Linked DNA regions of Homo sapiens: regions 1, 2, 3, 4, 5 and 6 are each linked to region 7. The links are contacts of gene promoters, found by promoter capture Hi-C in blood cells and fetal thymus (Javierre and others, 2016). All regions are on one chromosome and are shown on one strand. Each heading gives the region's core, a stretch centred on a gene start or on the middle of the fragment in contact. The rest is flanking DNA. Distances are from core to core; before and after follow the strand shown. Region 1 overlaps POLR3B (RNA polymerase III subunit B). Region 2 overlaps TCP11L2 (t-complex 11 like 2). Region 3 overlaps POLR3B (RNA polymerase III subunit B). Region 4 overlaps TCP11L2 (t-complex 11 like 2). Region 5 overlaps ABTB3 (ankyrin repeat and BTB domain containing 3). Region 6 overlaps POLR3B (RNA polymerase III subunit B). Region 7 holds the start of TMEM263-DT (TMEM263 divergent transcript).

What was found. The method cuts DNA at HindIII sites, captures the fragments that hold promoters and counts their contacts. A CHiCAGO score of 5 or more calls a contact.
Region 1: a fragment that was not itself captured here is called in contact with the fragment with the promoter of TMEM263-DT in region 7 in 14 of 17 cell types (naive CD8 T cells, M2 macrophages, total CD4 T cells and 11 more); the score reaches 11.0 in naive CD8 T cells.
Region 2: a contact is called between a fragment that was not itself captured here and the fragment with the promoter of TMEM263-DT in region 7, in 8 of 17 cell types (naive CD4 T cells, fetal thymus, naive CD8 T cells and 5 more). The highest score is 11.0, in naive CD4 T cells.
Region 3: a fragment that was not itself captured here is called in contact with the fragment with the promoter of TMEM263-DT in region 7 in 16 of 17 cell types (fetal thymus, naive CD8 T cells, naive CD4 T cells and 13 more); the score reaches 26.7 in fetal thymus.
Region 4: a fragment that was not itself captured here is called in contact with the fragment with the promoter of TMEM263-DT in region 7 in 12 of 17 cell types (naive CD4 T cells, non-activated CD4 T cells, fetal thymus and 9 more); the score reaches 11.2 in naive CD4 T cells.
Region 5: a contact is called between a fragment that was not itself captured here and the fragment with the promoter of TMEM263-DT in region 7, in 1 of 17 cell types (fetal thymus). The highest score is 5.5, in fetal thymus.
Region 6: a contact is called between a fragment that was not itself captured here and the fragment with the promoter of TMEM263-DT in region 7, in 14 of 17 cell types (naive CD8 T cells, fetal thymus, total CD4 T cells and 11 more). The highest score is 11.9, in naive CD8 T cells.

The regions. Positions count from the first base shown.
Region 1 is chr12:106,409,169-106,412,860 of GRCh38, forward strand. It overlaps POLR3B (RNA polymerase III subunit B), which reads left to right. Exons shown (of 28, transcript NM_018082.6): 12 at 1,658-1,792. Among named protein-coding and RNA genes, the nearest start is that of POLR3B, 53 kb to the left of the region's middle. The HindIII fragment of the contact is 6,628 bases long and covers 1-3,692 here.
Region 2 is chr12:106,309,955-106,313,583 of GRCh38, forward strand. TCP11L2 (t-complex 11 like 2) reads left to right here. Exons shown (of 10, transcript NM_152772.3): 2 at 1,087-1,278. The coding sequence starts at 1,122. Among named protein-coding and RNA genes, the nearest start is that of TCP11L2, 9.0 kb to the left of the region's middle. The HindIII fragment of the contact is 7,236 bases long and covers 1-3,629 here.
Region 3 is chr12:106,369,461-106,373,391 of GRCh38, forward strand. POLR3B (RNA polymerase III subunit B) reads left to right here. Exons shown (of 28, transcript NM_018082.6): 6 at 123-223. Among named protein-coding and RNA genes, the nearest start is that of POLR3B, 14 kb to the left of the region's middle. The HindIII fragment of the contact is 4,830 bases long and covers 1-3,931 here.
Region 4 is chr12:106,337,561-106,341,344 of GRCh38, forward strand. It overlaps TCP11L2 (t-complex 11 like 2), which reads left to right. Exons shown (of 10, transcript NM_152772.3): 9 at 3,266-3,438. Among named protein-coding and RNA genes, the nearest start is that of POLR3B, 18 kb to the right of the region's middle. The HindIII fragment of the contact is 4,948 bases long and covers 1-3,784 here.
Region 5 is chr12:107,612,530-107,616,552 of GRCh38, forward strand. ABTB3 (ankyrin repeat and BTB domain containing 3) reads left to right here. Exons shown (of 17, transcript NM_001018072.2): 6 at 251-340; 7 at 2,532-2,633. Among named protein-coding and RNA genes, the nearest start is that of PWP1, 71 kb to the right of the region's middle. The HindIII fragment of the contact is 1,509 bases long and covers 1,785-3,293 here.
Region 6 is chr12:106,390,710-106,394,162 of GRCh38, forward strand. It overlaps POLR3B (RNA polymerase III subunit B), which reads left to right. Exons shown (of 28, transcript NM_018082.6): 10 at 2,322-2,444. Among named protein-coding and RNA genes, the nearest start is that of POLR3B, 35 kb to the left of the region's middle. The HindIII fragment of the contact is 6,020 bases long and covers 1-3,453 here.
Region 7 is chr12:106,953,599-106,957,297 of GRCh38, forward strand. It overlaps TMEM263-DT (TMEM263 divergent transcript), which reads right to left and starts at 1,897. Exons shown (of 1, transcript NR_185933.1): 1 at 1-1,897. TMEM263 (transmembrane protein 263) reads left to right here and starts at 2,309. Exons shown (of 4, transcript NM_152261.4): 1 at 2,309-2,467; 2 at 3,484-3,551. RefSeq lists a silencer at 1,937-2,696 and enhancers at 1,973-2,267, 3,197-3,256. The HindIII fragment of the contact is 6,686 bases long and covers 1-3,699 here.

The DNA.
Region 1 (3,692 bases), core at 1,028-3,527, 540 kb before region 7:
TGTTCCATGTAACTTGCCACATTAAGATTAGAACAATAAAATGTAAATTATATATACTTAAATGGAGGACCATACAGCTTTCGAAATACCAATTGAAAATGTAAATTACTTATAGCTGCCCAGACACTGAGTTTTTCTGCTTGGTTTTGTGGTAACTGGTGTTACGATTGTAAGAGGGTTTTTTTTGTTTTTTTTTTTTTTTTCTTGAGGATGGACAAGAGCCTTTTCTTTTTAAAGACCTTCTTATTGATGTAATTGTTTTGTGGGTACAAGATAACAAAGTAGCTTTTAGGGCTACTTTTTCTTTTACCACATTCAAACACATTTCTTTTAACACATTCCAGAGTTCTCAGTAATAGAGAGTAAATTGACCTAGAGAAGAAATAAAACTTCCTTTGAAGGAAAATGGAGTATTTGAAACACATACAGAATTCTAACATCCTACATTATTTAGTGAAATTACTTAGCAGCAACAACAAAATGTATGAAGGAGAATGCTTGCTTGTTTTTTTTTTTTTTGAATGCAGTCTATTGATTTATTGTCATAGTGATAAATTTTATAAAAGAGATTTCATTGGGATTTTACTAAATGATTAAGGTAAGTAAAGAAGAAATTTTAAAATAGTATGTATCATCTGTGGAAAAGCCTATAAATACTCCTTGGAATTGGCAGAAGCTCAGGCTACATTCTCAAAATTTGTCTTTTTAGATGTAGGATCTACTTCAGTTTTTTTGTCTCTCCAAACAAACCAGTGCAATTATTTTATCAGTTCTGAGTCAACTTACTATGATTGAGCCAGATTCATTCATATGGGTTTCAGTGTTTCTGCTAGAGAAGATTGACTAGAACATTTGCTACAAATTCATTCATCTGTTCATTCATTCGGCAGTTATTTGTTGCATGCCAGACAGCATGTTAGTACAATTCTTGTTATCACTGCATGACAAACAATTCTAAAACTTAGTGGCTTAATGTAACTGTTCATTGTGTATCTCATGATTCTGTGGTTTGACCGGGTTTAACTTAAGGTGGAGGAGGGAGTTCTCATTTCAGGTCTCTTACAAAGTTGCAGACAGATAGCAGCTGAGGTTTGAGTCATCTGGAAGCTCACCTGGGCTGGACATTCAAGATGGCATCTTCACTCATATCTCTGGCCCCTCCTTGATTTTCCATTTCATTGGGATTTTACTAAATGAAATGTAGCCTCTCTCTCTGTGCAACAGAGCGTTCTGGACTTTAGTGTCTCAGGACTCTAAGAGAAAGGAAGAGGAAACTGCCAGTTGACTTAAAGATTAATTCTGGAATTGGCTGGTATCATTTCAGCTGTATTCTCTTGGTTAAATTAATCATAGGCCAATCCCAAGGGAGTGATAGATTCCACCTTTAATGAAGGAATGGCATGAAGTTTATATGAAGGGAAGAAGTTGATGTAGTCATCTTTGACACAGAGGTACTCACAGGTTACTGAGGACAATGATGAAAAGTCATCATCTCAGCTCAGGAAATTTCCAGACTAGTTGAATTTATTTGAATGGAGAGAATCATAACAATTCAGTATTTTCTTAGTTGAATGTTATAGTATTGATACTTTTCTTGAGGTACGTTAAATTTTAATGTCCATTTTCTCAAAATTTTTCTCCAATTTCTGACTTACAGGTTAAGGAATTCAATTTCCGAGCCAAATGTATCTATACTGCAGTGATGGTGCGAAGAGTTATTCTGGCCCAAGGAGATAATAAAGTTGACGACAGAGATTATTATGGTAACAAGCGACTGGAATTGGCAGGACAGGTGATTTAATATTTTATGTCAGAAATCTTGTTTTCCTTAATGAAAATTAATTTGGTTTTCATTTCACATAAGAAGAAACATTTGAATGAAATATAGTTTGCAGGTTTGAAGTATAAACATTTCATACCTGACTTATTATCTCCTAGAATTCCTTTAACTATAAAAACATTAATTCTTTTTTTTTTGTTTTCTTTTGAGACGGAGTTTTGCTCTGGTTGCCCAGGCTGGAGTGCAATGGCACGATCTCAGCTCACTGCAACCTTGGCATCCTGGGTTCAAGCGATTCTCCTGCCTCAGCCTCCCGAGTAGCTGTGATTACAGGCATGTGCCACCGTGCCCGGCTAATTTTGTATTTTTGGTAGAGATGGGGTTTCTCCATGTTGGTCAGGCTGGTCTCCAACTCCCGACCTCAGGTGATCTGCCCATCTCAGCCTCCCAAAGTGCTGGGATTACAGGCGTGAGCCACCATGCCCAGCCTAATTCTTTAAATGTTAATAGTACGTGACCTATATCTTTTGTTGGGATGTTTACCCTCATTCTGTATAATATACAAAGTGAAGTATGACTTTAAGTAATATCATTTATTCAGTTAACAAACATTTACTAAACACCTATTATGTTCTAGGCATACTCCTAAGTACTAGTTATATAAGAGGGAGTAAGACAGACAAAAGCCCCTTTTCTCTTACTCCTTGTAGTCTCAGTGGAAGGGAGAGAGACAATAATCAAGGAAACAATCCGCTGATTGTTTTGGTGACATGGTAGAGGTAGGTTAGTGAGGATATCTCTAATCTCATTTTAAGTCTTAGCTGATAAATGACATTTTATTTCAAGACTGTGTATCTCTTTCAACTGGCTAGCAAGCATCCAAAAATCTTTGGCTAGCAAGTAACTAAAAAGCTCCAGTTAATTTTTTAGTTTAGATATTGTATTTTTCTGTTTTAGAAATTTCATTTAGGTATTTTTTCATAGCTTCTATTTCTCTACAGAGATTTTGTATTTGTTCATCCATCACAAGCCTATTTTTATTTACATCCTTGTATTTTAATAGCTACTTTAAAACCTTTGCTGCTAATTTCAACGTCTCAGTCACTTGTGGGTCATTCTCTTCATTAGCTTTTCTCTTGAATGTGGCTCATGTTTTTCTGTTTCTTCTTATGTCTGATAATTTTGGATTGCAACCTGATAGACATTGTGGATAAGTTGTGGAGGCTCTGAATTCTGCTGTATTCCTCTAAAGAGTGTCCCAGTTTTTTGTTTTTTTTTTAAGACCCTCTGAACTTGGCTGAAAACCTCTGAATCCTGCCTTCCTGCAGCAAACATCAGCTGAAATATTCATTTAGTTCTTTCAGTTGTAGCTTGGGTCAATTGGGGATTTAGATAGAGTTTAAATGTGGAATTTGGAATTTCCTCACTTACATTCTAGCTGTTGAGGTAGCTCAGATCTTTTTCTTTTGGTTCTTCAATCCAGTAAGACTGCAACTTACTTTCTCATGTTTTAGCCTTCTGATTTGACAGGGATCACTGCCTGCCCTTAGGTGAAAAGCCATAAAACAGGAAACTCACTCAGAACCATTTGCTTTTGATAAGCATTCCTTTTCCTCAGTTTCTTTCTGCTTCCTGATACTCTTTCAATGAATTTCAAGTAGTTGTTTTATCTAATATTTCATCCAGTTTATACAGTTGAGCCACATTATGCATATTTGCAAATTTGTCTACTTGCTAAAATGTATTTTCAACCTCCAAATCTGTACTCAGCGGCATTTTATTGGCCATTTGCAGGCATATGCAGAACTGCAAAAAATTTGAGTCACTACACATTCCTACTTGCAGTCTAACAAGGCAATGTTCTGCCTTCTTGTTTCAGCTCTCATACTGTAAACAAGTATCCTTTTTACTA
Region 2 (3,629 bases), core at 509-3,008, 640 kb before region 7:
GAACTCTTCCTCTCATTATTGTCCATCCAGGATTTGAGGTGCCTTTCTCCTTGAGCCCGGGTTTCCCCTTCAGTGTCAGGTGATACCATATTCACATCAAGGTCAGCTCCCTCACGGGCCTGGCTGGTGCTCCTGGGACCAAGGCCTGGTCATCCTGTGTGCCTGTGATCTGCTTTCTGGGTAGTGTCCAAACCTGACGGCCCTTCCCTGGAAGGATTCTCATGTCCCAGAAACACTGGACATAGACACCAAGGGACTGGTTTTATCATGTAGTAAATCCCCTTATCCCTCTGAGTCTGTTCCCCCACTTGTGAGTCAGGATCCTACATGCTTGTGCACTCATAGGGTTGTGATGGGTACTTTGTAAATTGTCAAATCCTAACCATATATCAGGTCTTAATCTTCATATCACAGCAGTTCATGTGGAAATGGAGGGGGAAGAAGCTAAAGACTTGCCAGCCAGAGGTTTCATGCGGTCTTCCCCTTTCCCCAGGAGGTTCACAGAAAGCGTAAAGAGGCTGATTTCACAGCTATTTTATCTGAAACAAAGCAATAGGAGCAATAATAGCAGCTAACATTTGAGTACTGTGCCAAGCTCTTTAAGATGAATTCTATTCAATCTTCTGGCAACCCAATGAGAGGTTAGTCTTTCAGTCCAGTTTCACTATGAGGTAGGTAGTTAAGTGACCTTCCCAAGGTCTCATGGCAAAAGGCAGAACAGAACGAGAGATCTGACCCAAGTCCCACACTCCCGCCTTCTCATGTTTCAGCAACCCAGGAGGAGAGAGCATGTGTCCTGCATCTTTTTAAAAAGGACCTGCCATTACTTAGAGCTTCACATTTATAGTGGGTGTGTCCTGAGTAAGCTCACACCTATGGCTGTGGAATCCCTTTTCAGAAAGGCAATCTCGATGACCTAGTGATCTGGCCTAGTCCGGCCAAGGTGCTGGGGGAAGGATGAGGTCATCTGGGGGCCTTTCCAACACAGTGACACTTGTGGGGACAGTTGTCTACACTGGAAGAAGCATTGGTGGTGCCTGTGGAAGTACCACAGAACATTGACGCAGGGTCTGTTTGTCTGTGCAGGTGCTACCTTTTTACCCACACTTAAGTGACGCAAAATGCCCTTCAATGGCGAGAAGCAGTGTGTGGGAGAGGACCAGCCAAGCGATTCTGATTCTTCCCGGTTTTCCGAAAGCATGGCTTCGCTCAGTGACTATGAATGCTCCAGGCAGAGCTTTGCAAGTGACTCCTCCAGCAAATCCAGCTCTCCTGCTTGTGAGCCGATGGGGGAGCAGGGGTTGTGGGTGGCAGGGGTACTTCTAGATATGTGTTGGATTTGAAAACTCAGAAACGCCTGAGAGCAACAGACTTCCCCTCCTTTCTAGATGCACCAGAATAGCACTGCAGAGGCACTGCAGCTTTCCGGGACACATTCTCAGAAATAGCCACTAAAGTTTACAACCTGCTGATTTTTATTTTGATCACTGCTTCCGATCTGTTTCGGTCTGATGATAAGTCAGGACTTCAACCCCATCTGTCTTTTCTCCCAAACAGCAGAAAGCCATTCCTTGAGATTACTTCTTAGATCTCCACTGAAGGATAAATTCAAATTGGTCTTTTCTGATTATTCCTGATTTACATTGAAGGAAACTGGCCTTCATTGAAAGGTCAGGAAGGAAGTGAAATAATCTAAAGGGTTTCATGTTGATTTCAAAAAAATATTGTGCAAATCACCCCAGGAAGGTACCCACAAGGAGAATTACTACATTAGGGGTGTGAGAAAGAGTTAAAAGAGAGGCCACAGCAAAAGGAGATATCTTTTTCCCGTTTTTGCATGTAGAAACTAGAGATGGGTAAAGCAGATGTGTTTGCCTTTTTTTTTTTAATTGGCACTTTATTTAGTAAATATAACAGCTTTAACTGGCAAAGCAAATGCAGGAAAAAGCAACTAATGTTTAATATGCTGAACTGTCCACTTCTTACAAATTGCTTCATTTGTATTTTAAATTTTTACATTCTCATTTTTTAAAACTTAGAAGATACATAAGAATAGAGAAAAGAAAACATTGCCTATGATATCACTCAAAGACGACAGCTGGCAGTGCTTTGCCGTATCTTTATCCTTCACATAGACATATGTGTGTATATGTGTGTGGACTCTTCTTGCTTAGTATTATAACTAAAACATTTACTCATGATTACATGTTTTTGAAACATTGGTTTTATGAATACTTATTACTTTACCAAGTGAATGTACGGTAAAATTAACCATTGATTAATCACTGGACATTTAGTTTCCATTTTTTTTTTTTTTTTTTTTTGCTGTTATAAATAGTGCTTTATGAACATCTTACTGCATGAAGCCTTTCTGGAAAGACTTTTGGATATCACTGGATTATTGGACCAAAGTATATAGACATTTTTAAGGAGAATCTTGAGTCAGACCTGGCAAAAGAAATTAACAGCAGCCACCCCAGGTTTCTGTGCCTTTTCTCACTCTTTATACTGTATGTGGTGTTGTTGCATCTGACACCAGGGTACCTAGGCATCCTGAAGAAGGGTTTTACCAATTCTGTGTATCACCTTTCTCTTCTTCCTCCTCTTTCCCTGATCCTCCTCCTCATCTTCTCCTAAAAATTAGGTAGCCAGGCGCAGTGGCTCACACCTGTAATCCCAGCACTTTGAGAGGCTGAGGCAGGCAAATCACCTGAGGTCAGGAGTTCAAGACCACCTGGCCAACATGGTGAAACCCCATCTCTACTAAAAATACAAAAATTAGCTGAGCATGGTGGCATGCACCTGTAGTCCCAGCTACTTGGGAGGCTGAGGCAGGAGAATCGCTTGAACCTGGGAGGTGGAGGTTGTAGTGAGTCAAGATTGCACCACTGCACTCCAGCCTGGGAGACAGAGCAAGACTCTGTCTTGGGAAAAAAAAATAAATTAGGTAGTAAAGTATTACCTGTCACTGCTGTTGTTTGACACATGATTTTAATTAAAAGAAGCTAAGATTTCCAACAGTGATTTTTAAAAGACATGATTTATTAGAATAGTTTCTTAGTATAATCTTTAGAAATAACTCAGATTCTTCATTTACTATTTCCTACTGAGAAGTAAAATATCTGGCTTCTCAGATTTATTCTATTTTACTTTTAATTATGTAAATTTATTGAGTTCTTACTATCTTCTTCTTTACTTAAATTATCTCATTCGGTCACCTCAGGCCAACCCTGTGAGGAGGAAGGCTATGCCTCAGTGAAATCCAATGATAAATACCAATTGGCAAAACTCAGAGTGAACCTAAGTGTTTATACTATACTGCCTATACATTTAAAAATTACAGTTTTTGGCTGGGTGCGGTGGCTTACACCTGTAATCCCAGCACTTTGGCCAAGGCAGGCAGATCATCTGAGGTCAGGAGTTCGAGACCAGCCTGGCCAACATGGCGAAACACCGTCTCTAATAAAAATACAAAAATTAGCCTGGTATGGTGACATGTGCCTGTAATCCAGCTACTCGAGAGGCTGAGGCAGGAGAATCTCTTGACCCCAGGAGGTGGAGGTTGCAGTGAGCTGAGATTGCACCACTGCACTCCAGCCTGGCAACAGAGTGAGACTCCATCTCAAAAA
Region 3 (3,931 bases), core at 1,020-3,519, 580 kb before region 7:
GGAGAAAAAGGGATTAAAGTTCAATGTGGACCATAATTCTACTACAGAAGGAGCACTTTGAAGTGGTCAGGACCCTGTTGCAGAGAGGAGCAGTAACTGTCAGATTCCTGATTCTCTTTCAGTGCCGTTTGAGAGACATGACATACTCTGCCCCTATTACAGTGGATATTGAATATACCCGAGGCAGCCAGAGGATCATCCGCAATGCCTTACCTATCGGCAGGTGAGAAATGAAATCCGTATTAGAGCCACACTGCCTGGATTCCAGCCCCATGATGTGATCCCATTTCCTCATCTGAAAAATGCAGGAAATGCTGCCTATTTCATAGGTCCAATGAGTCAGCATGTGTAAAGCACTTAGAATAATGTCCAGCACATAGTCGTGGTTGTTACTATTTATTAATTGTGAAACCTTTTCTAAGAAGTTGAGGAAAATGTTTCCCTTTCCTACTATAACTCTGAGCTGCTAGGGAACCACTAGATACAATAGCCTTTCAGTGAACTCTCCTGGACAGGTCTTCTTGGTGGATAGGTATATTCTGAGATTGAGTTTTCCTGGAATTTAACTTTTTCTCATCTACAAGTATTTAAGGGAGAAGTTACTTATTTGCCTGGTACAAGTTTGGAAATGATAGCATCCACTTGCGTTTTTGCAATCTGCCCTTCCTGATTAGGGAAATATATTGACTCTCCTTTAGAAATGGACAAAACCCACAATATTGTGTGGTCAATAATGGTACTAGACTTTAAACTCAGTCCACATAATTTCTGTTCAAGTGTTTTTCCCCCTCTCAAAAGTGCTAAGAGCACTTTGAACAAACATCCATTTGTTCAATAAATATATACCAACTGCCTATCACTTCTTATGTATGATGCTGAGTACTTAGGTGAGTAAAAGATATACAAAATACAGTTCCTATTGGCTACCTTCATTCACAGCTATCAGGGAAGACAGGCATATGTAATTATGGCACCATTTGGTAAGGGGTCTAGAAGTCCAGATTTTTATGGAAACATGCAGGTTTAACAAATCCTCCTATACTTCCCTCAAAGGAAGGGGTAATTTGTATTGTTTCTCTCCTTAGTCTTCACTTAGAAAAATAAGTAAGATATTAAAATGTTCATCTTGGTTTTAGCAGGACTGTTTATCAGTGTTTTTTTTGTTTTATTGTTTTTTTTTTTTTTTTTTGAGACAGAGTCTTACTCTGTTACCCAGGCTGGAGTGCAGTGGCATGATGTTGGCTCACTGCAACCTCTGCCTCCCGGGTTCAAGTAGTTCTCTAGCCTCAGCCTCCTGAGTAGCTGGGATTATAGGCGTGTGCCACCACACTCAGCTAATTTTTGTATTTTTTGTAGAGATGGGGTTTTGCCATGTTGGTCAGGCTAGTCTTGAACTCCTGACCTCAGGTGATCCGCCCGCCTTGGACTCTCAGAGTGCTGGGATTACAGGCGTGAGCCACCGCGCCTGGCCTATCAGTGTTAAGGTGAGAACTTCTTTCTTTCTTGTATATGGACCATACTTGTGTCCAGTTAAATTTTGGACCATAGCTAAATTATGAACTAGATTGACTATTGTGAAGGAAAGGCAAGAGAGACTGGAGGAAAACATAAATTCATAAGATTGAGGGTTTAAATCCTGGTTTAAAGAGGGAGCATGAGTGGGCGAAGGACATGAACAGACACTTCTCAAAAGAAGACATTTATGCAGCCAAAAAACACATGAAAAAATGCTCACCATCACTGGCTATCAGAGAAATGCAAATCAAAACCACAATGAGATACCATCTCACATGAGTTAGAATGGCAATCATTAAAAAGTCAGGAAACAACAGGTGCTGGAGAGGATGTGGAGAAATAGGAACACATTTACTCTGTTGGTGGGACTGTAAACTAGTTCAATCATTGTGGAAGTCAGTGTGGCGATTCCTCAGGGATCTAGAACTAGAAATACCATTTGACCCAGCCATCCCATTACTGGGTATATACCCAAAGGACTATAAATCATGCTGCTATAAAGACACATGCACACGTATGTTTATTGTGGCACTATTTACAATAGCAAAGACTTGGAACCAACCCAAATGTCCAACAATGATAGACTGGATTAAGAAAATGTGGCACATATACACCATGGAATACTATGCAGCCATAAAAAATGATGAGTTCATGTCCTTTGTAGGGACATGGATGAAAATGGAAATCATCATTCTCAGTAAACTATCGCAAGAACAAAAAACCAAACACCGTATATTCTCACTCATAGGTGGGAATTGAACAATGAGAACACATGGACACACGAAGGGGAACATCATACTCTGGGAACTGTTGTGGGGTTGGGGGAGGGGGGTGGGATAGCTTTAGGAGATATACCTAATGCTAAATGACGAGTTAATGGGTGCAGCACACCAGCATGGCACATGTATACATATGTAACTAACCTGCACGTTGTGCACATGTACCCTAAAACTTAAAGTATAATAATAATAAAATAAAATAAAATAAAAAGAGGGGGCATGTAACTAGCATTTGTTGAATACCTGCTATGTGCCATACTATGATAGGCAATGTTGTTTGTTAGCTCCGCATTCATAAAAAAGACCTCTAGTCATTAGAATGCTTATATGTGCTATGCATTACCTAAATTACATATATAATCTCATTTATTTTTTGGAGTAAAAAGATTTTAGTTTAATCCAAATTATATTTGTACTTGGTTAGAAATCAAACAGTACATAAAAACATTTGATTCAAAACAGTAACCTCCCTCCTTCTCTCCCCTTCCTCACCTTTCGTCCCATTCCCAACTTCATAACTATTTCTGTTATTTTTTTCTGGGGGTTATTACATCCATAACTTTATTTTGTGTGTGTGTGTTTTTTTTTTTTTTTTTTTTTTTGAGATGGAATTCACTCTGTTGCCCAGGCTGGAGTACAGTGGCATGATCTCAGCTCACTGCAACCTCCGCCCCCCAGGTTCAAGTGATTCACCCACCTCAACCTCCCGAGTAGCTGGGATTACAGGTGCCCGCCACCACGCCTGGCTAATTTTTTTTTTATTTTTAGTAGGGACAGGGTTTCACCACGTTGGCCAGGCTGGTCATGAACTCCTGACCTCATGTGATCCACTCGCCTCGGTCTCCCAAAGTGCAGAGATTACAAGCACGAACTACCATGCGTGGCCAATATCCATAACTTTAAATGCGATGCTTTGACCTCTATTTCTTAATACATTAACTGTAGACATTATTTTTTCCCTCCTGATATACGGGATGTGGCTTAGCTTACCTGTGTCACCCACTTTGCTTCTCCCTTCGTCTTCCAATTTTTCCTTCTTGTTTTTAATTATCTTTTTGGTTACTGTAGTAACTGAAATATTCTTATATCTTCATGTCATATTACATAACTTTAGTCAGTATGTTCATTTCCCTTGGTATAAAATGAGAATATTCTTATTTCTATCTTCCCATTACGATTTCCCTTTTAACGTGAGTTATTTAGAAGACTTAAGATTTCCCAATTGGTGCTTTATGTCAATTTTTGGAACTTTGTAGAGACCTGTTTCTATAAATGTTTCATGTTTATTTGGAAACAAGAGGTATTCTCCAGTTGTTTTGTGCCATTGTCTGTGTATTTCCTTCAGATCAGACTTGTTAATTGTGTTGTTTAGACGTTTTGTATCAGCATTGCTTTTTGATTTGTTTGTTCTATCAATTACTACAATAGGTATGTTAAAATCTCCCACTATGATGGTGGATTTTTCCATTTTCCTTATGGTTTTGTGTATTTTTGCTTTTTTGAAGCTATGATATTAGGTGCATAGAAGTTTAGAATTGTTAAATCTTGCTAGTAAACTGAACCTTTGATGATTGTACATTTATCTTCTTTATCTCTTATAATATTCTTTGCCTTGAATCTTATTTTGTCTGCTCTTA
Region 4 (3,784 bases), core at 992-3,491, 620 kb before region 7:
AGTGCTGCTGAAATGTTATTATAAAGTATACAGAAAGTGGTTACTAAGAAGACAGGCTTTCGGGTCAGATGGACCAGGGTTTAAATCCCAGCTCTGCTACTGACTTATTATGAACACTTGAATATGTTCTCAAATTACTATGAGCCTGACTTCCTCACTTGTAAGAAGGGAATAATAATTGTATTAATATCTACCTTGGAGTTGTGAGAACTTAAGATGATTCAGGTACAGATGTGTGGCACGTAATATGTACTCAATGAATGCTAGCTATTAATAACTAGTCATTAAATCATCCTCTTTATAATTGTATCTGGTTGTTTATCTGGTTGTTTCATTGTTTAAATTTTTTTCCTGTGTTAGGAAATCAATACAATCAATTCTCAATTATCCTCATTACGGATGGGGCAATAGCATTCATAGTATTAAAAAAAGGGATAGTACTAAATAATAGACCAAGATGTCATTTATATTGGGTTTGATGATGCATCTTGAAAACTAGAAGGAGTTTTTCCCTCTTCATTGTGAGTAGAAGGCATGGCTTATGCTAAGACAACTTTTTTTGAAGAGCTGAAAGAGGATTTATTGATTAATTGATTTTTGCTTTTTTTCCCTTTTTCAACTTTTATTTTAGGTGTAGGGGCACATGTACAGGTTTTTTACGTGGGTAAATTGAGGGTCACTGGGGTTTGGTGTACCAGTGATTTCATCACCCAGGTAGTGAGCATAGTTAGTTTTTCAACCCTCACCCTCCTCCAGACCTCCACCTTTAAGTGTAGGAGCCAGTATCTGTTGTTCCCCTTTATGTCCATGTTTACTCAGTGTTTAGTTCCCACTTATAAGCGAGAACATGTGGTATTTGGTTTTCTGTTTCTGAATTAATTTGCTTAGGATAATGGTCTCCAGTTTTACCCATGTTGCTGCAAAGAACATGATCTTATTCTTTTTACAGCTGTATAGTATTCCATGGTGTACATATACCATATTTTCTTTATCCAGTCCACCATTGATGGTCATCTAGGTTGATTCCATGTCTTTGCTGTTGTGAATAGTGCTGCAGTGAATATATGAGTACATGTGTCTTTTTGATAGAGTGATTTCTATTCCTTTGGGAATAAACCCAGTAATGGGATTGCTCAGTTGAATGGTAGTTCTGTTTTAAGTTATTTTAGAAATCTCCAAACTGCTTTCCACAGTGGCTGAACTAATTTACATTCCCACCAGCAGTGTATAAGTGCTCTCTTTTCTCTACAACCTTGCCAGAATCTGTTATTTTCTGACTTTTTAATAATAGCCATTCAGGCTGGGCACGGTGGCTCACACCTGTAATCCCAGCATTCTAGGAGGCCGAGGCAGCCAGATCACTTGAGGTCAGGAGTTCAAGACTAGTCTGCCCAAGATGGCGAAACCCCGTCTCTACAAAAAATACAAAAAATAATTAGCCGAGCATGGTGGCGCATGCCTGTAGTCCCAGCTACTCAGGAAGCTAAGGCAGGAGAATCACTTGAACCTGGGAGGCAGAGGTTGCAGTGAGCCGAGATTGTGCCACTGCACTCCAGCCTGGGTGACGGAGTGAGACTCCGTCTCAAAAGAAAAGAAAAGAAAAAAATAGCCATTCAGACTGGTATGAGATGGTATCTCTCTGTGGTTTTGATTTGCATTTCTCTAATGATTAGTGATGTTGAGCATTTCTTCAGATGCTTGTTGGCTACATGTATGTCTTCTTTTGAGAAGTATCTGTTCATGTCCTTTGCCCATTTTTTAATGAGGTCGTTTTTTGCTTGTCGAGTGTTTAAGTTCCTTGTAGATTCTAGATATTAGACCTTTGTTGAATGCATAGTTTGCAAATATTTTCTCCCATTCTATAGGCTGTTTACTCTGTGGATAATTTCTTTTGCTGTGCATAAGCTCTTTAGTTTAATTAGGTCCCACTTGTCTATTTTTGCTTTTGTTGCATTTGCTTTTGGGTAATTCATCACGAAATGTTTGCCAAGGCCTATGTCCATAATGGTGTTTCCTGGGTCTTCCTTTAGGGTTTTTAAAGGTCTTATAGTTAAGTCTTTAATCCATCTTGAGTTGATTTTTGTATCTGGTGAAAGGAAGGAGTCCAGTATCAATTTTCTGCATATGGCTAGCCAGTTTCCCTTTAGCCTAAGAACTCACTGATTAAAAGCAAGAAAAATCTAGGGCAGTACATTGTAGTGGATAAAAAGTCGGAAGGTAAAAATTTTATTACAATCAGTCTATCCTTGGGTTACAGAATTCCAACGTCAGGTCCAGTGTGGGCTTATAACAAATTCCAGTCAAGGCAGAATGCCAAGAACTTATTTCTTATTGCTGTTAATGATGATAAACATGATAACCTATTTTTCTCTTTTCCTTCTTCCATGTGCCTGATAATCTGCTAAGAGCTAAATATTAGACACATAGAAGTTCAGTGGTAGAGCCAGGATTTGAACCCAGCTCCACATAACACCATAGCTTATGTTCCAACTCGCTCCGTTATACTGCTTCCTATCATTGAGCCCTTCTCTCATCCTTTAATTCCCATTTTGCAGAGTTATCTTAAGGACCTTTTCTGGATAGTGAGATAAAATTTTCAGTCATCTTTCCCTAATAGTGTGGACCCAACAAATGCCTTTTCTAATTACCTATTTTTCCTTACCTACTAAATAACTCACTCTTTAATTACCTTTACAACTTTCTGGACTCTATATATTGGAGATTATTTATCAGTTACTTGAATAATGTGAAGGAGCTTATTATCCTTGGTCATGATCAGCCAAAAGTTCTAGGTATTTGACCTCTGAATATCTTCATTTGTTGTTTTTGATTGGTGTTATAGATTTACTGCTCAGGCATAGATGAATTGAGTCTACTTCATTTATCAAGTGCATTTTTTAAAATGTGTGAATGAATCCACTCAGACCAACAAGTTTAAGAAGTAAATTGGTGTTTTCTGTCCCTTTCTGATAGCCCTGCAATATAAATGGGGTTGCAGGTGCATTTTTGGGGACCACATTTTCTGCTTATGCTTTTCTATTTAAACACTGCTACACAATTTAATGATTTTAAGCATTTAGAAGTCTGCTACATCAGAAGGTTGGTGGTTGGGAGGAGTTACTATTTTATGAGTTCATTCTAATAGAGGTTATTATTGTCTGTATAAGAGAAATTTGGTAGACATCTAAAACAAGTCTGTATATTAAAAATAATAACTTGATGAACAAAAACTTTCCCTGGTGGAATTTCATTTTATGTTTCATAGGACCTTTAACTTGAAGGAAGTCCTGAATTCTATTGGTATTCAGACTTGTGTTGAGGTTAACAAGACCCTGATGGAAAGAGGTTTACCCACTTTAAATGCTGAGATTCAAGCTAATCTTATAGGTCAATTTTCAAGCATTGAAGAGGAGGACAATCCTATCTGGTCCTTGATTGGTGAGTCCTTTTATTGATTTCTGCTTCAATTCCAATTTGCTTTAACTTGCTGATTTTGACTAACATTAAGTCAGTCAAATTTTGATCTTAAACACATTACCCACTTTTGGAGGATAAATATTGAAAATATCAAGAAATATTAATGTTTTCAAAGGCCTAGGACTCATTGCTGCTTCTGTGTGTCATGGAGTTGGGGGATGTTTCAGGGCCTATTATCTATTCAGCCAATAGATTTTATGACAAGAATAACAGAGTGCTGGAGTAATGTTAAAATCCTAGATCAATGCAGTAATTCAAACCAGCTGGCAGTATGTTCACAGATAGTAGATATGAGTTCTGCTGTGAG
Region 5 (4,023 bases), core at 1,289-3,788, 660 kb after region 7:
ACGAAAATCCTCCAAGGCAAGGAAAGATAAATGCTGAAAAGGCCGAGGAGGCTCCTTCGTCGCCTCTATTTTGGTTTCCACATGTGGAGGGTTGTGACCTTACGAGTCACAGGGCTGCACGTTTATTTTTGTCATGCCGGAGCACAAGCATGGCCTCCGAAACACAAGTAAGATTCTCCATTTGTTATTGTCGATTGACCACAGCCACCTTGTAAACGTTTTCCGTTCTCTGGTTTTTAACTCACCACAGGGCATGACTCCCCTGATGTATGCCTGCGTCCGTGGGGACGAGGCGATGGTTCAGATGCTGCTGGATGCCGGAGCTGACCTGAATGTGGAGGTGAGGGTGCAGAGGCCAGCAGGGCCCCTCGGCCGGCAGTCCCCAGGGGAAAGCGAGCAAGAAAGGGGGGCTTTTTCTCCCAAGAGCTGCCACTGAGGGTGCACAGTGCAACAGATAGCTCTTTCCTGTGTCCTTTTAGTTGCTGTGGCCCTGGTGAGACCACCTGACAGATTTTGTCCATCCTGAGGCCCCCAGCCCAACCAAACCCCAAGGAGCTGCCTGCATGTATGTTATGTTTAAAAACAACCAACATAGCTGCAAGGAGCACTGGCTTTTCCTTGGCTCGGCAGTCCTGATTTCCAGAGTTCCTGATTCCCACGGCTGATCAATTTCTTCTAGGATGGGGCAGAAGGAGCACTCCTGAGCCATCAGCCCTCTCTTTCCACTTAACACACAGCAAAGGAGGCACTGGCTCAATCCCTAAGCTGAAGTCTTCCTCCCGCAGATCCTCCACGCTCCCCCTCCAAACCCTCTTTGGCTCACCTTGTTGCCTGAGTTGACAGATCTTAAAGCTAATCTCAGAGCTTCCCTGAGACAATGTGGTCTGGTGGAAAGCATGTCCCCCCAGAAACCCTCCCCTCCCCCTTGCAACATTGGCCTTAGAATCTGACAGATTTGGGTTCAAGTTCTGATACCACCGCTGCCATGGTGACTTGCTTTTGTGCTTGGGCAAGTGCCTTAACCTTTTTTCTCTCCCAATCTGCAGAACGGGAAAATAATTGCACCCATCTCATATAGTTGTCAGAAGGGATATAGAGAGTAGGTTTGGAACTCAGTTAATATTGGTCCCTCCACCCACACCCCAACCTCGTCATAGGTGAAATATCACTTTTTTACCATGTTCTATGCTGCCTGAAGACCTGCTCTCCCTGGCGGCAGGATATTGGCAGTATCAGACAGCAAAGAGATTGACGGGCTGAAATCATAACTCGGCAACCCTGGGAAACCTTTTCAGTTCAAAATTAGATGCCCGTGCAGTCTCAGTACTGTGTGTGTGTGTTTTTTTAATGTGAGTTTTATATTTATCTGAGGAAAGCAGACAATAGACACAGTTTTGGATCCAGAATCATTTTGGATCCTATAAATTTGGAATCTGTGGGGATTTTCCCTCCTGCTATGAATCCTTAAGCACCATGCAGACCCACGCAAGGGGTCCTCAGCATTGGGTTCTGGAGCATTCTCGGGTCCTCTCTAGCCCATCCCACGGATCTCAGCTCAGGCCTTCCTCCAGTGGATGCTTAGTGAACCAAACTGCTCTGAGTGAAGCAGGCATTGAGGTTACATGACCCCAGGAGTGTTTGGGAGAAAAGCTCCATGTGGGTGCTGATCTTGCAAGACCCTGGCCTTCAGCTGCCCTGTCTCTTCTCTCTTGGCCTGGAGTGTTTTTAGGCCTCCATCCTGAAAGACCAATCTCAGATTGTTCATTCATGATGCGTCCTGGGAAAGCTTTGTGCCCATATTTCGGTAGTGCAAGAGGGTCCTTGTCAACCAGGAAGCCAGCAGAAGAGTGAAATGAGAACAGGGTGGGGCCAGCTGTGATCAGATGGTGAAATTCCTCCATCAGATGAGTGATGGACTTCCCTGGCTTGAAAGCTGAAAGCAGACAGTCCCTTGCCTGGGGTTTGCCACCACTGAGAATCTCTCTTAAAAGTGTGGATGGCATGGTAGTGGCATCTCATGCTCTCTGACATCCTGTAGCTCCCAGAACCACCACCCTCTGCTAGGTAGAAGGAAGAAGGGGACAGGCCAGAAAGCTAGCTCATTGTAACTGCCATTACAGCTTCTTCAAAGCACCTGAGAGGCGATCAGAATCATCCATTACTTCCTTTCAGAGGAGAAGTGAAGGAGTCCTTCTTATGCACAAAGGACATAAAGTCACTGAGACATTTTCTCACTGCCTTCAAGGGTAAAATCTCCAAAACACGGACTTCCATTGTCCTGCCTTTGGGGGATTGCTTTGGTCTCTGTTCTTACAAACACAAGCAGGACAGATCCACGGCTTTGGTGAGAGGTGTTTGGAGCATCCAGCAGTGGAAAATCCCTGCCCTGTATCACCAGCTCTTCCCGAGGCATCTTCCAGGATGTCTTTTTGTCCATCTCTAGCCCATGTGCCCAGCCACAGATACGTCAAATTTGCTAGCCTAAGTATTGTGAAGGTCACATTTTGAAAATAACTTCAATTTGTTTATAGGTTGTCAGTACTCCTCATAAATATCCATCCGTCCACCCCGAGACCCGCCATTGGACGGCTCTGACTTTTGCTGTGTTGCATGGACATATTCCTGTAGTTCAGGTATTAACGTATTTCCCTATCCACATCTGACTTTTGATTTTACCTCTTCCATAACACACATCTATACCTCTCCCAGCATGCATATTCTCTAAGACATTCATATTGGTTAACTGCAATTCAATATAGTATATTCATATCATGTGAATACAAATATTATATGTAATGATCTATATGGCCAGGCTTTAACCAATATGAAATGATCACATATCCACACACAGCCTCACACACAGAGTGACAGACCCATGAAGTTCTTCCTGGTTGCTCTGGGGTGGGGCTTCAGCTATTTTTGTGGATTTGTTCATTTTGCTTGTCGCAACATGAACATGAGATTTGGTTGCTATTGATACCTTAGAACCTTCCCTTAGGTGTGACCCCTGGTGTTTGTGTAGAATCCATTGGTTTCCAGCCAGTGGGAAGAAGCATCCAAGACATCAAGGGAGTGTTTCCAAAAGACACTTGCTTGGATCCCACTTCTTGAGAATCAGGTCCAGGAGGTCTAGAGTAGGGCCTTGGCCATGTGTCTTCTGAAACAGCTCCAAGCACAGTGACATGTCCTCATTGGAGGTCCTTTGGGCATATAAATATGTATTGCTTGTACTTTTTCTGGCTGTTGTAGAGTTGGTGTTCAGTGAACAGCCATACGGTACATTCTAAATCATAAGCTTGATCTTTACTTCATCAGAAAAGAGAGATCAGCATCCAAGTTCATGACTGCACCTGGTCCTGTAGTGAGTGCTGAGGTTGGGCACATCAGGAACTCACCTCCTTTTGTGTGGTCCATGCCTCTTGATTCCATGCAGAGCAGGGACAGCTCTGCAATGCTGGAATTTCATGGGAATCCTTTGTTGTTTCCTGGGTCATGAGAATCCTTAGAACAGATCCCAAGTCATGTTTCAGGAGGCTCACAGTGTGACATGTCACACTGAGAGCTGGCTTCTGCCTATAGAACAGTATGCCCAGTCCACTCCTGGTAGAGGAAACTAAGAAAGAAGGGGTCGGTTGGTGGTCTGGTGGACACAGATGTCATTCCTTAACATGCAAGGACATTCCCGACCTTTAAATCAGGAATGGGAACAGTAAGCAGCCAAGCAAAGCCACACAGAAGTCAGGCAACCACCCTGCCGCAGGGCCAGCGATCACGGAGTGCCAAGTAGGTGGCTCCCCCATGGCCGTGCCCTCAGGGAGCCCTAGGTAGGCAGTAAAGATAGCAGATTTTTCCCCCATTTTCCATCAGCAGTGCTGACAGCACATTCACTGTGAATGAGACCAGGCATGGACAGCATCCCTACCTCTTTAGGAAGCCCAGCTATCTCAGGGGATGCACAGAATGAAGTCTTATGAAGCAAAACTTCTGGAAGCTCACTCTGCCACTTTATTAACTGATCTTGCT
Region 6 (3,453 bases), core at 369-2,868, 560 kb before region 7:
AAAAAAAAGAACAAAATAAATTGTTTTAAATTCAGATAGTGAATTTAATTCCAAAAGTTGGTATATTAGTTATCTGTGCTGTGTAACAGATTATAGCATAGCTTCTATTCATTGGGAATTTAAGACTTGCTTAGCTGGGTGGTTCTGGCTCAGAGTCTTTCATGTGCCAGGATGTCAGCCACAAGCTGAGCATAGTAGCATGTGCCTGTAGTCCCAGTTACTCAGGAGGCTGAGGTGGGAGGTTCACTTAAGCCCAGGAGCCTGAGGCTGTAGAGCACTATGATTGCACCTGTGAATACCCACTGCCTTCAGCCAGGGCAACATAAGCAAGACCGCTTCACCAAAGAGAACAAAAGAAAAGATAATCAGCCAGGGCTGCAGTTATCTGAAGGCTGAACTGAAGCAGCCTGGAGAATCTACTTCCAGGATAACTCACCCCCATGGCAGTTGACAGAAAACTGCAGGTGCTCATTGGCTGTTGGTAAGAGGACATAGTTTCTCACCACCGGACCTTGCCACAGACTGCTTGTGTGTTTCCATGACATGGTAGCTATCTTCCCCCAGAGAGAGCACTTTCAGACAGAGCAAGCAGGCAGCTATAGTGCCTTTTATGACCAGTCCTTCAAAGTCATCATACGTGCCACCTTCACATTTTTTTCTATAGAGGTGAGGCATTGAGCTTAGCCTGCACTTGGGGTGGGGAATTAGTCTCCACCTTTTGAAGGGAGTATCAAAGAATCTATGAAGGTTTTTAAAACCACCAATGTTGGCCTAAAAGGGACATGGGATCTATTCAGATTTCCCCCAAATCTTCAAAACTTTCTATAAGTTTACATCGGATCCTAAAGTATCCAAATCAAATTTTTAGAATGCAGACCACTGAAGGTCAAATGTAGAATCATAGCATTTTGAGCTGGAAGGGATCTGGTTTTTCATTTATGCAAATGAGAAAACAAAGGCGAAGAGGTTGCATGACAGTAGTAGTTGTAATGTCTGTGTGTGTTGTTGGTATTATATTAGCACAAACACCTCAGATCTCTGGACTTTTAGATAGATGCCCCTGTTGTACTGAGGATAATGTCCTTGATTTTCTGCATTGGAACTTGGGATTTGATTTTCCCTTCCTTTCTTTTTTGTGTGGAGAACTGGGAACTAGGGCATCAACACTAACTACACAATTATCCTCTGGTTCTGTCTTCTCTACAGCTGAAGGAAGAATTTTAATGCAAACATAACTTTTCCCCTCACTTCTAAGAAGCTGACTATTACTCTTCCAGGAGAGATTTAGTGAGATTATGCTGTGTTCCTTGATATGGCAAAATTCCAGGCAAATGTGTGAAGGAGTGAGCCCTAGTACCATATGGAATCTACAAAGACTTGCGTTGCTGCTGCCACCTTGAAACACTTAAGTGGGTTTCTGAAACCTCTTAAGTGTATTCCTACTTTTTTTATTTTCTTATTTTTTTTCCCGAGACGGAGTTTTGCTCTCGTTGCCCAGGCTGGAGTGCAATGGCACAATTTCAGCTCACTGCAACCTCCACCGCCCGGGTTCAAGCGATTCTCCTGCCTCAGCCTCCCGAGTAGCTGGGATTACAGGCACATGCCAACACATCTGGCTAATTTTTGTATTTTTAGTAGAGATGAGGTTTCGCCACGTTGGCCCAGCTGGTCTTGAACTCCCAACCTCAGGTGATCCACCTGCCTCGGCCTCCCAAAGTGCTAGGATTACAGGTGTGAACCACCATGCCTGGCCCATGTGTTCCTACTTTTTAAGTCTCCTTTGAAACCTGCATGAAGTTTGGTTTGATATCTTTAGAATAGTGAGGTAAAACGTGTTTTAGGAAAAATTCTTTTCCTTTTTAGGAAAAATATGAGTGATTTGACAGTTCTCAGAAAAATTAATTTTGTGACAAGACTGATTGGGGTTCTGCTTATTTTCAGCAATGCATCTTTTCTGATTCACTGCCTTTTGGCTGTTTGTCTTTACAGTTTGCCTTTGTAGTCATGACCAGTTGTCTTTACCATACCTCCCAGCCTCCTTTTTTCGTGATGAAACTCTTAGAATATTTAAAAATTTTAGCAGATAGTACACATGCAAAAAATGTTTGAGAATGTTTGTTTTCCACTTTCTAATCAAAATATCTGTTTCAGGTTTTTCTGCAGCTTGGGCAAGGCTGCCAATGCCAGATGGCACCATTTCTGAGAGAAGAGCTAGCTTTTGCTTAGAAGTAATACCCACAAACAATGCCAAATTAGCATAAGCAAATGTCAGTGAGTTAACACAAAGCCAACACTCTTTCTATCTTTTCTTTCCTTCCTAGGCCATGGGTGTTGAGAGTGACCAGGAAATTGTGCAGATGATTGGAACAGAGGAGCACGTGATGGCTGCATTTGGGCCCAGTCTGGAAGAGTGCCAGAAAGCTCAGATTTTCACACAGATGCAGGTGTGTCTTTTCATGTTGTCCTTTGCTATGAAATGGAATTGGAGACTTAATGCTGCTCATTGATAAAGCTCATCGGATGTGATGGCTTTGGGCTCATAGATTTGGGAAAGGTATTGGGGAGATATGGGAGGAGTGAAGTTTCTTTAACTCACTTTCGTCAGGTTTGGAGGAAGGAGTTTGCCCAGACAAATTAGGAGCCTATGGTGCCCGACTTAGAATAGGGGATATATGGCGAAGAGGTGTTTGTTTTGATATAATAGGAAGTACTGTTTTTTTTTCCTTATTTGCCTGAGTGATAATATACTTTTTAAACTATGGCAACTCTCGTGTACAGGTTTTGTGTGTGTGTGTGTGTGTGTGTGTGTGTGTGTGTGTGTATGTGTGCATGCATTTCTCTTTAATATCTTTTTTTATTCCCTACTTCAGTTGCTTTAGGCATCCAGTTGTATGTGGTTTCTATTTCTTTTCCTGAATTCCCAGTGCTGCTTTGGACAGCAAGGAAAACCCAGGATCAGTCCCTTTTACTGCTGCAGAGCCTTCATTGACCTGCTCAGGCACTCCTGGTTGGACCCTGGGAATTTTAGGGCAAGACTCAAAGATGAAGACTGAGAAATACACACACACACACACACACACACACACACACACACACCCCATAGTAAAAATAATTGCACTTCCCTTCCCACATGGAGGGAGCCCCAGCAGCCATACTTAGGATTTTAGTCCCATATTTGCAAGTGCTTTCCTAAGTATAAATCAAAGTTAACATCCCTCATAGCCATCCTGGGAGGTGGGAATTCCCCACTATAGAATCACAACAGACAGTTCTTACCTATCCACGTGTACATTGTCTATTCTGTGGGTTATGTATGACATATGTAAACTCTGGGCTGCTTTTTTCTCTTCACCCAGGATGCTTGTAGAGAAAGCATTTCCCACTTATATCTGTTAGTGTGTATTCTGAAATCAAATCAGTATTGATATTTTTGTAGACTACACTAGATATTTA
Region 7 (3,699 bases), core at 647-3,146:
TCAGTGCAGCTTTGACCTCCCAGGCTCTAGCAATCCTCCTGCTTCAGTATCCCAAATAGCTGGGACTACAGGAGGGTGCCACCATGCTCAATTATTATTATTATTTTTTTAAGAGATGGGATCTCCCCATGTTGCCCTTGCTGGTCTTAAACTCCTAGGCTCAAGTGATCTTCCCGACTCAGCCTCCCGAGGTGCTGGGATTAAAGGCGTGAGTCATCTGTATTTTATTTTAACAATCTAAGAAAGGGAGGTCACAGAATGGGAATCAAGAACTTAGAGGAGTTCAGACTATAAAACGAAGAAATACTACAAGTCATGTATTTGTTTGTTTTATAGGCTGAACTCCTACACCAGAAGTTTCTGATGAACTCATGACCTCCCAAAGGAGCTCTTTTAAATCTTAGTTAGTTTATGAAACAGATTCAACTGCTGCTTTGAGTTATGGCTTTTAATAACCGTAAAAATGCAAAATCTCCCAGGAGTGGCTACAATCTTGTCAGTCATTTGTACTTTAATAATAATTAGATTCTCTTGTAAAACGACGTGCAAAGGGAAGAAGAAACAAGACGTAATTGTGCACTTCATAATTTTACCTAGAGTTCAACCTTGAAAGGTCACATATTAAGGATAGAAGTTTGTGTAATAACGAGAAAACAGAGGATATCCGTTTCTTCACATACTGGATAAACAACAATCCACGGATCCTGCTAATCATCCAACCCATATGTTGAATTGACAAGAGTATTTAATTTCCTCTTTCTGCTTTGAGAAACTAAATATCTTGACAGTCTGAGCACAGTGGCTTAAGTGGCCTTAATTCTCTGATTTCATAAGTTAATGATTAGGTTGAAGCTATAAACTATAGTCCATTCCATTTAAGACCTGGATCAAAGTTAGCTTCATCCAGCATGTTTTAGCACGTCCTTTCTGAGCTATGTTGTCAGTAGTTACCATTCAGTTCCACCATCCTGAATATTCTGCAGTTGATAAACCATTTTGTGAATTTTTTTTTTTTGCTTTCTGTGTATGTTTTTGACTCGCGTGTTTTTGCTTCGCTAATCAGATTGCGAAAGGAAACATCTCACGTTTGCATAGGACTTCACAGTTCATAAAGACCTTTCCCACCCACCACAAAAAAAGTATGACAAGTTTCCCGTCATCTTCATTTTATAGGTGTGGAAAGGGAGTCAAAGAAAAGTTAATCGATACCATTTATCTAGTTAAGCAGGCTTTGAGCAGTTCATCTCCTCCCGTCCTCAAAACGACCTTCTGAGGTGTCTCCTGCAACCCTGCTCTGAAGCTCAGAGCGAGACGGCCTCACATCCCAGGGGGCTCAGCTCTGGCGGGGCCGCCACGCGCCTCCCCGTGCCTTTGGACGGGTGAGGAGAGCTGCTGCCCCGGCGGGGACCACGTGGAGGGGCCTGGTCAGCAAGTGGCAAGGACGCGGCGCAAAGCCAGGCTTTCTAATGTACAATCCGCGGCTCTTTCGATACTGAACACCCACCTCTTCAACAAATTCGAGCGCCTGGCAGGCCCTGCACCAAGCCTAGGGTGATGGCGACCCAGGCGGGTTTTTACTCTCAAGGAGCTCAATTCTAGGGCAGGGAGAAGTAAAATTAAAAAAAAAAAAATCATAACAAACTGAAAAACACATAAATAAGCCACGTCTCTCCTCACCCCTAGCACTTAATCACAAAGGCCTGTAGAGAGTCCCGACGAGAACTTCTGAGCAGGCCCCGCTGTCAGTCCCTGAGGACAGCATGCAAGGGAGGTTGACGTCCCTGGACGAAGAAAGTGCTGGAGAAACTGGCGACCGTCCCACCTTCCCTAAGGCGAAGGCTCTGAATTCCGAAGACCGTTACTCGGCGCGGAACGCGGGCACCGCCGACGTCAAAACACCGGGCCTGGGGGCCGCGGCCTACGCGTCTCCCGGGCTTCGCGCCCCTCGCCCGATTTGATTGGATGGTGGCGGGAAGAAGGCGGGGAGACCCCCGGAGGAGGGGCGCGCAGGCCGGCCGGGGGTTCCCACGGAGGCGTCCAGGGGGCGAAGGGGCGGGAGCGGGCCTCGGAGCGTCGCGCGTGCGCAATTGGGACACAGCCGGCTGGGGACTGCTGGGAGGGCCGGACCCTGCGAGAACGGGTGGGCGTGTGCCCGGTGGGCGCGGGAGGGGCCCGGGCTGCACGAGCGCGCGTGCGCGTCGGAACTGGAGCCGCGGGAGGAGGCGGGAGCTGAGGAGGCGGCGGAGGGGGCGGGTCGCGTCGGGCGCCACGTCCGCAGCCAGAGGCCTCCGCCTCCACCACCGCCGCCACAGTCTTCCAGCTCCACATCCTGAGAGGACGCCTCTGGAGCCGCGACTGCCCGGGGTTGTGCCGGCCGCCGCTGCCGCCCAGGCCGCCTCAGCTCTCCTCTGCGCCGGCCCGCTCACTCCGCCCGGCCCCAGCCCTAGCGCTGGCCGCGACCCCGGCGGTGAGTGAGTCGGGATGCGAGGGCAGGGGCGCAGTCCCGGCTTCCTGCCCTCCTCCGTCGCCCTCTGCCGTCGGCGCCCCTGCCCCTCACCTCCCAGTGCCCGGCCTGGCTGCCCAGCGGGGCCTTGGCGAGGCCCCAGCGGGAAAGGGGGAGGGGCGGGACGAAGTTGGGGGCGGATGGAGGTTCGCTTCTGGGGCTACTCCTCCTTATACGTCGCTGACTGCCCCGCCGCGATTGGAGCTTGCGCACCCCTGGAAAGCCTCCGCCTGACTTCTTAGCATCTGGGGGTTCGGGGTTGGGGGCGGAGGAGGAAGGTGAGGGGCATCAGCAGCCTGGGAGAGGGATGCAGCGGAGGGGCTTGGGTACCGGGCTTCCTCGCCCTGCCAACTCCTGACCTGTTGCTAAACCTCCCTTTTGGGTTCAGGCACACAAGACTTTTTCCCAGTGGACACCCCCATAGCTCTTCCTGGGTAGGAAGGCTGTATCTCCACGCCTAACCTAAAGTAAAAGTGGGAATGGAGAGGGTGCTGGCCGCGCCCAGGGGTGACAGGGAGGGCTGGAGCACCCATCCGTGCCGTCACTGCCTCCCAGTCTAAATAAAAACTGCCTGCTCTGCACACGCAGCTTCAAGACCGACCCCCCAGCTCCCACTTCCAATCAGATCGCCTGTCCTAAACCCTTCTTACATAGAAATTCTGGAGCCCTTCGGGAGTGGGGGGAGTGCTGGGTGTACAACGTGGAGCGGAGGGAGGAGGTGCCAAGCTCAGTGCTAGCCACGGCGCCTCCAGGGTCATTTTCTGCCTCCTGCCACGTCACTCACTGCTAAAGAAAAAAAAAAGATTTGCTAGTGCCTAAAGGGATCAGTAGGGAGAGAAGGGGCCACCCGGAAGGGTTTAGAAACACCTAGAGAAAAGGGAAGGGTTCTTAATTTGATTTTTGCGTCCTTGTGAACACTGTGCTAATTCCAAATGAAAATATTTGCTATATGTGATTATTTGCTGTATGCTATTGTTTAGCCTTTGAAACTTCTGCTGGTGTGAGTGCCCTCAGGGGTTCCCCAGGAATATCGATACAACACCAACAGGTAAACGCGCGCGCCCGTGTGTGTGTGTGTGTGTGTGTGTGTGTGTGTGTGTGTGTGTGTGTATGTGTGTGCGCGCTCGCGCCCATGCTTAACTTTTTAAAAAGAAAGGGAGAAGTAGCCTTTGATAAACCCATATGCATCCTGTTTT